3 separate regions of the Homo sapiens genome follow, and regions 2 and 3 are each linked to region 1. Evidence: promoter capture Hi-C in 16 types of primary human blood cells and fetal thymus (Javierre and others, 2016). All regions are on one chromosome and are shown on one strand. The core of a region is centred on a gene start or on the middle of the fragment in contact, and the rest is flanking DNA. Distances in the headings are between cores, read along the strand shown. Region 1 holds the start of SUV39H2 (SUV39H2 histone lysine methyltransferase). Region 2 holds the start of RSU1 (Ras suppressor protein 1). Region 3 overlaps PRPF18 (pre-mRNA processing factor 18).

Region 1 (3,818 bases), core at 1-2,500:
AGTCCCTTCCATCTACAAAAACTAGAGAACGTTTTGTGTTAAGCTGACCTCATTAAGGGAATCACGTATAAAGGAGGTTCCTCTTATCTACTCAAGGTGTGTTTGTGTGCTTTTCCTAAACATTTTTATCTAGTTGAGGATTCAAAACACAACCCGCAAAGGAAATGCTCTTTGAAAATTAAAAAAAAAAAAAAAGTGAACATGAAAAACTGCAAACACGTGGTTAAAAAAAGAAAGACAATCTCTCGACAGTCTCCAGTAATGCAGAAAAAGATTTCACTGACAAAATTAAATAGTTCATGACCACCACAAACACCTTCCGCTGGTTCACAGTAACCCCTGACATTCTCCAAGGAGAAAAATTCAGGGATAATGAGGTCATAATCCCAGCGGAGAGGAGACGAGCTTGAAAACACCTTTACATTCCGGAACGCACGGAAAAGTTCCAGGCTCTCAAAGCGTGCGCGACACCAACACCCCCCGACGCCCACACCCACGCGCGCTCGGTGCCCAGTTCCCCGGTGCCCAATTCCCCAGCGTCCACAGAAATAACACCAAGCTCCCGGTGGGTGAAAGAGTTACCGTAAGCCAGAGGCTGCAACCTCAAATACCCACTTTCTGGGCGATTCTCCAACGAGGCACTCAACCTCCTAGCGTGTCCGCCTTGGGGGGGATTCCTCGCTTATCCCCTTTCTTAGCACACAGGCGCCCCGATTTACTCTCCCCCTCTGATATTAAGGTCATGTTCACGCCGGCGGGCGTCGCTTCCCGCCTCCCACTTCAAAGGCCCGGGCGCATGCCGCACGCCGCGCTCGAACCACCACAAAGGAGCCAGTCGCAGCCGTGCCCCCCGGACCTCCAACCGGGGACTGCCGGGGAGCGGCCTCGAAGCCCGAGGCCGCCACGGGAGACGCGGAGGGGGCCGGGCCGAGCGGGCGGAGAGGCCACGCTCCACTTCCGAAGTGCCCCAGGCTCGGACAGTGCCCACCTCCGCGGCGGGAGCCGGCCGGGCAGGGAGGCGGGTCAGCGGCCTGGGGGAGGATAGGCGTCCGCAGCGTGCGTCCCGGAGTTGGGGTCGCGGCGGGCGGGGAACCGCCACGTCGCCATCTGGCTGGCCCGCGGGACGGCCCCGCCGCCCGGGCCTTGGGAGCTTGCCTGGGAACAGGGAAGGCGAGGGGGCCGCGCTCCAGCCTCACCTCCTCGCGCCTCGGCCCCGACCGCCGCCATCTTGTAGAGCTTTCATTCAAACTGGCGCGGTCTGACGGGATAGCTCAGCTGGCCCGACGCCCCGCCCCTGGCCGGCCCGCGCGGGACTTGGGGGCCGGGGCTTGTTGGGGGACGGAACCCGCACGGCGTCCTGACGTCACTGGCGGCCGACCCCCCGCCGCGGCGGCCAGCGCGCCTGCGCCCCAAAGCTAGGCCCGGCCCCAAGCGCGAGGAGCGGGGCGGGGCGAGCGCGCGTGCTCCCGGATCCTCGGCAGTGTCCGGCGCCCCCTTCCCTTCGCCAGGCCCGTTTGGCGCCTTCACTCGGGAAGACGTCGGCCAGGACTTTGCGCTTTGGAGACGTCTTACTTCGGCAGCACTCGCACACTGCGAGATCCGACACGGGCAGCGGGGACCTAGGGAGCCGGGGACGCTGCCTGTCGGGTACGGTTCCGCAGCTACCGCAGCCCCGTGGGCCATGGTTAGTCTCCCCCCGACACCGCTCCCTCTAGAGCTCCGGGCTTCGGAAGCGGCTGCACGTGGGCATGGCTGGAGAGGTTCCGCTGGCTTGGGGCAGTCGCCGGGATTCCGACTGGTTGGTGTGGGGTGTGGCCTGTGCTATCCAGCTCCCAGCTGATCCTAATGTGCGGCACAGCGGAAACCACCGGTCCACATCAGTGCTTCTCACTTAAAGGGGCTTACGAATCGTCGGGGGTGGGGGAGCTGGACTTGGAATTTTTTAAGAGATGAGGTCTCACTCTGTCACCCAGGCTGGAGTGCAGTGGCGCGATTACGGCTCACTGCAGACTAGACCTCCTGGGCTCAACTTTAATGTAAATTGGGATTGGGTAGGTCTGTAAGGGGACCCGAGCTCCCCTCCCATGTTGTTGCCAAGCTCCTGAGCTCGGCCTGGTGGCGGGTGGGGGCCGGGAGGAGAAGGACACGTTAGTAAGGAAGCTGCAGGACGACTCCAGGGGCCTCCCACCTGGTCTCCACCCCCCTCCCCCACCCATTCTTGACGCTGCATCCATGATTGTTCTAAACAACCTAAAGCAGAAATCTTAGAGCAAATAACGAAAACTGGCAGAAGGCCATTTGATATCTCCTTAAAAAATTCATGTAAAAAATTACATAAACGTTTCAAAGCAGTATGTATAAATTTGAAATACTGGAAATGAACGCAGACCATTAAAGGAATAGTTAATTATTTGATTCCATTATGAAATACTGTCTAGCCGTCTTAAAAAGGTGTTCATGAAGCTTTTAGTATTCAGCAAAACCAAAACAAATCCCCCTGAAATATAGTTTTAACTATGGAAGAAAAAAATGTATAGGAAAATAACGAAATAGCCTTTTCGGAGTGATTTTCTTTTTAACTTCTCGTTTTTAAATATTTAATCATTTTCTACGATGGGAAACACCACTTCCTCACACACACTCATGCTCCCAGACTTTATTTAGCTACAAACGGCATCATAATACAAATACTGTTCTGCAGTCCGTGTGTGTTTCAATGCAACTGCATTTCTCAGACATGTTTCTAAGATTTGAGTCCTTAGTAAATTTTGTATTCCATATCTCATTACCTTGAGATAAGGAATAAAAGGCCCTGTCCAACCCTGTCACCTGGAAGAGCATCCAGGCCCTTTAAGGCTTAGTCTATCTAGGATTATGCCTTCAGACTTGGATACAGCCTCCCGTCCTAACCGGCCCCTGTATTCATTACCTCTCCTGTATGTTTTCAGAGCCCACCAAGGAGCGGCCATCGCTACTCACTGGCCACTCTTGAATCCTTTTTGGCTCCTTTTCCTCAGTCCAACCTGGGTTCCTCAGAGAAGAGACTGTAGTCCTGGGACTGCATTTCTTTTCCGCCCTCTCCCTATGTGACTGCCCCAATTCCCATGGATTTAAATAGCATCTTGACACACAAGATGCCTCACTTATCGTCTCCGGCCCTGGCCTCTGCCTGAATTCCAGGCTAGAATATCCACAGTGCGTAATGGACATATGCCCTTAGGTGTTGCACAAACATCTCAAATTGAACATATCCGGAAAAATACACTTCTGAACTTCGTAGCATTCAGAATAAAACTCAAACCTCCAGATGGCCGGCAGGGCCTCCAGTGATGGGAATCCTGTCTCACCTCACTTGGTGCCACTCTCCCCTTTACTCATTTTCCTGGCCTTTCCCCGGCCCCACTTACCCAGAAATCTTTTACTGTGCATCTCCTATGTGCCAGGCACCTGATAGGTGCTGGGAATATAGCAGTGGATGAGAAAGAAAAAAGACCCAGTCCTCATGGAGCTGACTTCCTAGTGACAGGAGCAGCGGATAAAGCAAATCACTGAAGGCAGCTGGAAATTACTTTCCGGTTAAGAGGACAGGCTCCTTCCCCTCCTCACATGGCTACCTTCAGATCACTTGGGTCTCAGCTTAAACACCACCTATTGACAGAGGCCTCGCATGTTACCTCATTCTTTAGCCCTACTTTGCATCCTTAAAAAGCACTCATCAAAATTTGCAATTATCTTGTCGGGTTTTTGTTCTTTGGTCTTGATTCATAATGAATGCATCGCACTATTTTGTAAATCCAGTGTTTCGTTTCGTGTCTTGA
Region 2 (3,818 bases), core at 621-3,120, 1.9 Mb before region 1:
GAGAAAATGCCCTGGAGGGACACCAAGAGAAGACAGTCGTCCACGAGGCAGGGGAGAGGCCACAGGATAAATCAAATCTGCTGGCACCTTGATCTAGAACTTCCAGGATTGTGAGAAATTTCTGTTGTTTAAGCCATCCAGGCTGTGGTATATTGTTACGACAGCCCTAGCCGACTAACACAGGTACTGTATGTCTTCAGCCTACCTAGGCAAGATTCACTATTAGAAATTGATAGAATAAGAAAAATTCTGATTGCTTCAAAACAGGACTTTTGCTTTAAAAGAGTTAATGATTCAAGAAATAAATGTATTAGGAGATTACCTACTAATACGTATTGATGAAATTATGAAGTTAGAAAATCATCAGTGGATGCTAAAACTTGTGGGTAAAAATTAGATGAGGAATGGGGTGTAATCAAGTAGCACCTCCCCCCAGCATTATTTTTAATCATAAAGAAAAAAATAGTAACTTTATGGTGAAGAAACCTGGCAGACACTACCTTATTTAAGTGAACATCACCTATACTGGGAGAAACCGATGCCATCTGTACCTTGATATCATGCACTGGAAAAGACACATCGCTTTAGTGGTGTTTCTCCAAAAATTCATAACCTGAAAGGGAACATCAAACTTACTTTGAAGGATATTCCACACAATACCTGGTCTGTATTCTTAAATAATGTCTAGTTCAATAAACATAAAAGCCAAGGACGGTTCCAGATCAAAGAAGACTAATGGAGGAATAACTCTTTCATCTGGAATGTTTTTTAAGCAAGAAATACCTGCTTTCGAATTTAAGAGTGCAGATCCTTTTTTTATCCAATTGGTTCGGAGATATAATTACATTATTTTACCACATCTCCTTAAGGCTTTGATCCCTGCTACAATCTACAATATATAAATGCATATGTGTGGCATCCGTCTTATCATCAATTTAGGTGACCAGTAGAAGAAAAGTGCCTGGTGCCAATTTTTATTCCATAGTATAAAATAGTCTCTCAGGACAGGGTTTTTGGTGAGAGAAGCACAGGATGTTGCTGGGTGACTGAGACTGGGTCAGGAAATAGGGAGGCAGAGGGCAACAGTTTCTCTAGAATTTAAAATTTGGTTGCTTTTGGAAGAGAAAGCAAGAGATTCCTGGAAGCCAGAACGTCATGTTTCACAAATGTAAAAGTCCTAGTTGGGAAAGACACATCGCTTTAGTGGTGTTTTCAAATGACTTTTAAAATAGTAGGGTTTTACTTGTAGGTTCTAGCTACAAGTAAAAAGGCTAAAAGCCAGCCTTAGAAACCTGTCAAAAAAGATTTCCAGCAGGGCGCTGGGGAAACGCAGACCGCGCCGGAATCCCCGCCTGGAGAAGCTCTTAATAGGGCGGGAAACTGCGTGCCCCACAAGGTCCCTCAGAGGCACATTGTGGAGACGGGCTCAGGGTAGCAACTTCTGGCGAGTGGAGCGGCTATTACACAAGCGAAACATTCGGAAGCAATTTACTTCCAGCTTTCGCAACACCCACCCTGAGCCACCACCCTCCCTTACACAGTCACGCCACAAACTTCCCCACTTCCGCCCACAGCCCTCTGGGCTTCGACCCATCAACTGAGCTTGCGCCAAGTCTACTGCGCACGCGCCAACTTCGGCCCAATCAGCGTCCCAAACCGTGGGGTGGACGCCACCGGGATAAACTATCCTCAGCGTGGGGCGGGGTCTCGAAGCCGAATAACGAACGTGATTAGCCAGCCTCTTCCACAGACTTTTAAGGGCGGAGCCTGGCCCTGGAGACACGTCTGGAGAGCTGTTCTCCTAATATGGGTAGGGTCGGGCGTGGAGCTGGCAGCGGCGCTGTGTGCGCCTGCGCGGGGCGCCGAGACAGGGCGTGTTCGCTGTTCAGTGCCGGTGTTGCAGGGAGTGAGGGCAGCTGGAGTGCGTTCTGCCGAAGCTTGTGGTTGCACGCCCATCGTCTTAGGGGCTACCTTCCGTGGTGAGTGTGTGCGGTGTTGCACTTGGGGTTGCTTCTCGCTGCGTGGCCGCAGCGGGGCTGAACCCTTCCCACTCCATCCCCTCCCCGCACCCGGACCAGCCCCTGGGACGCCCTCGGACGCCCACCCGCTCCAACCCTGGGGAAGCCTCAGAGTGGCAGCGAAGGCCTCTTGCCTTTCCGCCTCTGCGCTTGCTGTCATCGCCCACGTGCTTTGTTGTTGTTCGGTGCAGACCATGTCCAAGTCTCTGAAGAAGTTGGTGGAGGAGAGCCGGGAGAAGAACCAGCCCGAGGTGGACATGAGTGACCGGGGCATCTCCAACATGCTGGATGTCAACGGCCTCTGTGAGTTCTCGGGCAGGACTCTCCCGTGGATGAGCTGGAAGGCTTTCTAAGTTTGCCAATTCACTGCTGGTCCTGCTGTGAGCGATTGTACTGGTTTAGACCCCAGCCCCTGCTTGTAAACCTCACTTGTCAGGGGCTTCGCGCAGAGGGTTTGCAGTAGGATTTGTTCTGTTCCACCTGGAAAACGATCCTGAGAGTCCACGATGAGAATCACACAGACAGCTGTGCCTCATCGGTTGTCTCTGCTGTATGGCATTGAGGTGGATTTTCCACAGTTTGCTTAATAGTCACTTTAATTATAAATTGAAAATTAATTTTGAGTCCTTCTTCCTGTCTCCTAATACAGTCTTTGTCCATGAACAAATGACACAGAAAAGTTCCATGGTTAATAAGCATTCTTGTGCCTGGAGCGTTTTAAGCATTTCTTGAATCTTTACATTCTTCTGAGTATTTATTCTCCGAACTTGGTTCAGGCTTTTGTCACCTCCTCATGCTGTGGTGAAATCCTCCTAACTTGCCCTCTTGCCTTCAGTTTCACTGCCCAGTTTAATCACTGGGTCACTTTCAGTGTCATTTTCCTGTAACCCCTGTCTATGGTGTTACCCTCTCCCTTAAAACCAGGGATTGCAGATTCACATGCCTCCAAGTGAGGGCGGTCAGGGGCGGTTATGAACTAGGTGATAGGTGTCCCACTTGAAGGGGCCAGCTGCTGCACCTGCTACTCAGACACATGTCACCATAGGAATGTTGGCCCAATGTGCCAGATTATTTTCTTAAAGGAACCAAGATTCTATATTTTTATGTGAAATTTGCTAATTTTTAGATGTTGGCTACTAATTCTAATATTTGAAAAACCTGTGATAAGTGAGCTAAAGCAGTTCTTCAGGCTGACGTGGCTTTGGTTTAAACCCTCTCCGCACTTCTCCAGGTTGTCCATTATCGACGGTAATGCTCCAGGTTTCTTGGCGTGATGTACAAGGCCTTTCTGAATCTGAACACAACCTTACCCTTCCATGCAGCTGGCATTCCAGCCATTCTGAACCTGTTGCCCTTCCTGGACCAGAGCCTACTCGTTCAGATCTTGGTGCCTTTACAAATTCTGTTTTCCCTCTTTCTCAGTCGTTTGCACCTGAAATCCTTTTACTTCTAAGAGTCAGCTTAGACATCACCACCTGTGTAAAACCTTATCCGTCTGCACCAGGCTAACATATCCCTTCCCTCCTCTGTGAAGGTGGTCGTGTGTATTGCTTTGTGACTCCTCTCACATAGGATTGTACTGATTTTTTTCTTTTTTAATCTAGAAGTCTCTCTTCTCTGCTGGGACATTGGGAAGACAAAAGCTGTGCAATATTCATGCTTGCATTTTTTTAATAATAGTGCCTGGAGCACAGTAGATGCTCAAAAATAGTTGAGGAATGAAGAAAATGAAAGAATGATGGATTAGGCCTGTGAGTTTGGGATATCAACTCCAGGATGTGACAAGAGAGAAGAAGGGAG
Region 3 (3,818 bases), core at 763-3,262, 1.3 Mb after region 1:
TTTCTCCAAAAATCTCAGGATTAAAAACACATTTAATTATATAATGGCAGTTAATAGCTCTGGGGAAAAAATCTAAGTCATTTCATGAGCTGGACTCGAAGTTATCAACAATTATCTTTACAGTAATTACTTTCCTTCAGGGCTTTCCTCTATAAAAACAAAAAAACACACTAAACAAAAGCAAAAACTGCCACTATATTAAGTTACTTTCCTACCTTATCAAATAGTTGAAAAGGTTCAAATTTAAGAATCTGGGAATGCCACAAGCCAGCAGAGTAAACCTATGTAAGTGATTCTTATTCCAGACCAAGTGTGTGTTAGACAACACTGGGCAAGGCAAAAATGAGAGTTCCTTTCTGAATATCTATCTACTCAATGGTTATTAACATAAAACTTATTTTCATTTCTAATTAAGCAAATAAAACAAATATCTTTATGGAAAAAATCAAAATACAAGTTTAAACTTTCCCATATTTTAAAAACATCAGAAATATAATTACATTTTAAAATTTTTTTAAGTCACTTCTTGGTATCTTTTGAAAACTACATTTTTCTTTAATACTTGTCTTCTCCCAGCACTACAAAATCAAACCAAATGCATATACATACCATGTGCATTCCTCATGCTTCCTTCTAAAAATGCTATGCAGGATAAATCCATTTCCAGAACTTTCCCCATTACATGCACAAAAGTATTATCTTATATTGATATTTTACAAGCAAAAGGTTAATTACAAGTTTATGATTTGGCAAAAGTATTCCAATAGAACCTCTGAGCTTTGAGTTAAAAATTAAGCTAGATATAGTCTTCTTTTAAAATAATTTAAACGTAACTTCTCCACCTTATACCCTTTAACCCCTCCCAATAAAACCACAATACATTATCAACTAATTTCTTCTAAAATATACAAGCAAAGCCTTCCAGACAACTCATTTGTTTCTAAGAAATATTTCAAGATGACATTTTCTATCCAACAGACTAAACAGTGTTTGAAATGTGATACCTTATTACAACAAAGGCATATAAATATATACGGCTTTATACTTTAGGCAGAGGTTCTTAGGACCCAAAAGGACGTATTAACAATGCAAACATAAAATCGATGGCTTAAAATATTCCGGAGAAGGCAGGAAAATTACCACCACTAATATTACTGTGGCTGGATGAATAAATGTTTTGAAGTCTTTCCAAATAGACTGTTTTATTGGGAGAGGTGGGGGAGAGGAGTGGTGGTGGAGCTGAAAATAACGCAGTCTCAGATTCAGGACTTTATTAAAAAAAAAAAAAAATTCAAGCTTTGATCTCAAGCCACTTCATGCCGTCCACAAAAAGCCAAACCATTCCAAGCCAAAAGTCATGCATGTATTTTCCTGAATTCAAGATTTTTTTAAAAATGCAAAAACAAAAACTCATACCTCTCCAGATGGCTTCTCATTTATAGGCTAACGTATATTGATAAATTGAACAGAGATCAATGATTGTCATTTAACAACAGCTGTATAAATTTAAACTCAGAAATGTACAATTTAACATAAAAGCAGACATTCATACCTTGTAGCCACATCTTTCAAAATATGCTTCCTCTTCTTTTTTGGCGAGCTCACTACGCTTGAAATATTTTTTATTTTCCTATTAAAGAAAATAAATTATGTCAATAATATATCCTTGAGCAAAATTTCATGTCCCATAGTCAACAAATACCTTTAGAAAACTTTGGAAACACTCTTCAGTTTTTCAAGAATTGGATAAAATAAATATTTTTTGGTTCCAGAGATGAATACATTGATTCCCCAAGCACATCAACAACCCTCCACTACGACTATGGGCACCGATATGTGGTAAGTTCAAGTATTTTTCTTGCAGTATCAATCAGTAGGCAAGTCCATCAGCAAAGAGGAGACCAAGAATATTTTCCAAATGTTTTCACTTCTTAATGTCTGAGTTCAATGATAATTTCTTCAAATGGATTCATTATGAAACACATAAAATGGTATACCTCAATTATTTTTTCCTAACAGAAACAAAATTATGACATATATAGCCTACATTTGATATCCCACATAACAAGGGAACTCCAGGAGTGTAAGTTCTTTCTTGTTACCTGGAACCTTATTATATCAATCAGTTCTTAAAATAATCTACATATAGGGTGGTCTTGGTGAACTCTTTTATTTAAAAAATGATTTAAGGATATTTGGGGTTTTTTGTGCGTTTTTCTGGTTTTCTGTTTGTTTTGGAGACAGGGTATCTCTCTGTCACGCGGGCTGGAGTGGAGTGGCACAATCAAGGCCACAACTTCGACTCCCTGGGTTCAAATGATCCTCTCACAAGGTATTTGTTGTGATATGATTTGATGTAAAGAGACAAGCTCTAAATCTTGTCTGTGGCTAAAAAGATGTCAGTCCTTTCCACATTATACATAAAATTATCCTTATTGTTACATCTACAGTCCGTAATTTGGAGGCTTGTTGCCATCGCAGCTCTGCCTCTTGGATATTATTCCAAAGATGGCTTTGTTCAAATAAAGACACTGTCCCCGACTGTATTAACAGTAATGATATAATATTACCTGTGTACTACCTCCACACAAGTATTTAGCACCTCATAGTTCCAAAGCTCATTCACTCAGACAATGATCATCAATGGATGCTAAAACCTTATGAAAAAGGCCAATGGTGACAATGGAAAGATGAGCCTGCCACCATTTGAACCCAATGATCAAGCTTGACATCAGTAAAAGATTATGTACCACCTATGTTATACTACAGGAATTACCCAGCCATCGTCTACGAAGTATCCTTGTTAAATGTAGGGAAGAGAGGAATTAACTAAGTGTCAATATGCCAGGAAGCAATTACACAAATCAAAGACATTTTACAAAACTAGCCCCAGTTTCTCCAGCAAGTCAATGGCATGGAAAAAATCAGCCAAGTTGAGAAAATGACAACGTTCTTCATTAAAAGAAACCAAGATTCATAATAAGCAAATGCAAGGATTGAACTTCGTGTTGACCTGACTTGAAAAACCAACTGTAAAAGCAAATGTATGTACATATTTTAATTCAGTTGGAAAATATACGAATGTGAGAAGAGTATCTGATAAAATTAACAAACTAATTTTAATTTTGTTGGGTGTGATCATATTTTGGTTTTAAAGGAACATGTCATTTTCTAGAGCTGCATGTTTCAGGGGAAGGATATACAGGGGCTCATCATAAAATTTTATCTATTTTTGTATTATGTTTAAAACTTTCAGAATAAGGTTTTTCTAAAAGTTCATTCCTTAATTCAATAAACATTTCCAGACTTATCTACCACACAACAAGCACAGTTTTACGGAAATAAAGATGAAGATGTTATCTGGGGTAAGGAACCGATGGTATCATCTGAACATCAAAACTACCCTGAGTACGGTGGGGGCAAATAGTATTAACCCCTTTTTAGAGATGAGAACGCTGAGAATTAGGTTAGGTGACATTCCCAGAACTCAGGAAGAATGATGAGTAGCAACTAGAACTCTGGTCCTTAAACCCTTTGTTCTGATCTAGTCTTCCAAGCTACAGTTCTTCACTCCCAAAATATTATTTCGGCATCTAAAATTGTTTTTGACTAGGTAGTATATAATTGTCATATTTCAAATAAGTTGGCAAACACACATTGGTATCCTCTCAGAAAGGGCTGTGTAGAAAGAAAGGAAAAAACACTCTCCAGGCCGGAGGCCATGGTCCAATCTTTTTAACTATGTTATCTTTGATGACCATGTCTCAATTCCATTGAACACACCTAACAAAATCTCAAGCCTAGAACATCTCAAAATG

The links. The method cuts DNA at HindIII sites, captures the fragments that hold promoters and counts their contacts. A CHiCAGO score of 5 or more calls a contact.
Region 2: a contact is called between the fragment with the promoter of RSU1 here and the fragment with the promoter of SUV39H2 in region 1, in 6 of 17 cell types (fetal thymus, neutrophils, naive CD8 T cells and 3 more). The highest score is 12.3, in fetal thymus.
Region 3: a contact is called between a fragment that was not itself captured here and the fragment with the promoter of SUV39H2 in region 1, in 1 of 17 cell types (naive CD8 T cells). The highest score is 6.1, in naive CD8 T cells.

What each region holds. Positions count from the first base shown.
Region 1 is chr10:14,876,298-14,880,115 of GRCh38, reverse strand. SUV39H2 (SUV39H2 histone lysine methyltransferase) reads right to left here and starts at 1,250. Exons shown (of 6, transcript NM_001193424.2): 1 at 1,197-1,250. The coding sequence starts at 1,227. It overlaps SUV39H2-DT (SUV39H2 divergent transcript), which reads left to right and starts at 1,457. Exons shown (of 1, transcript NR_186426.1): 1 at 1,457-3,793. RefSeq lists a silencer at 777-1,516. The HindIII fragment of the contact is 2,774 bases long and covers 1-2,465 here.
Region 2 is chr10:16,815,476-16,819,293 of GRCh38, reverse strand. It overlaps RSU1 (Ras suppressor protein 1), which reads left to right and starts at 1,870. Exons shown (of 9, transcript NM_012425.4): 1 at 1,870-1,979; 2 at 2,210-2,321. The coding sequence starts at 2,213. It overlaps LOC105376435 (a long non-coding RNA gene), which reads right to left and starts at 1,595. Exons shown (of 3, transcript XR_930708.3): 1 at 1,538-1,595; 2 at 552-613. RefSeq lists enhancers at 1,252-1,301, 1,332-1,421, 1,452-1,561, 2,232-2,391. The HindIII fragment of the contact is 3,392 bases long and covers 1-1,939 here.
Region 3 is chr10:13,595,270-13,599,087 of GRCh38, reverse strand. It overlaps PRPF18 (pre-mRNA processing factor 18), which reads right to left. Exons shown (of 10, transcript NM_003675.4): 2 at 1,553-1,630. Among named protein-coding and RNA genes, the nearest start is that of PRPF18, 10 kb to the right of the region's middle. The HindIII fragment of the contact is 1,428 bases long and covers 1,299-2,726 here.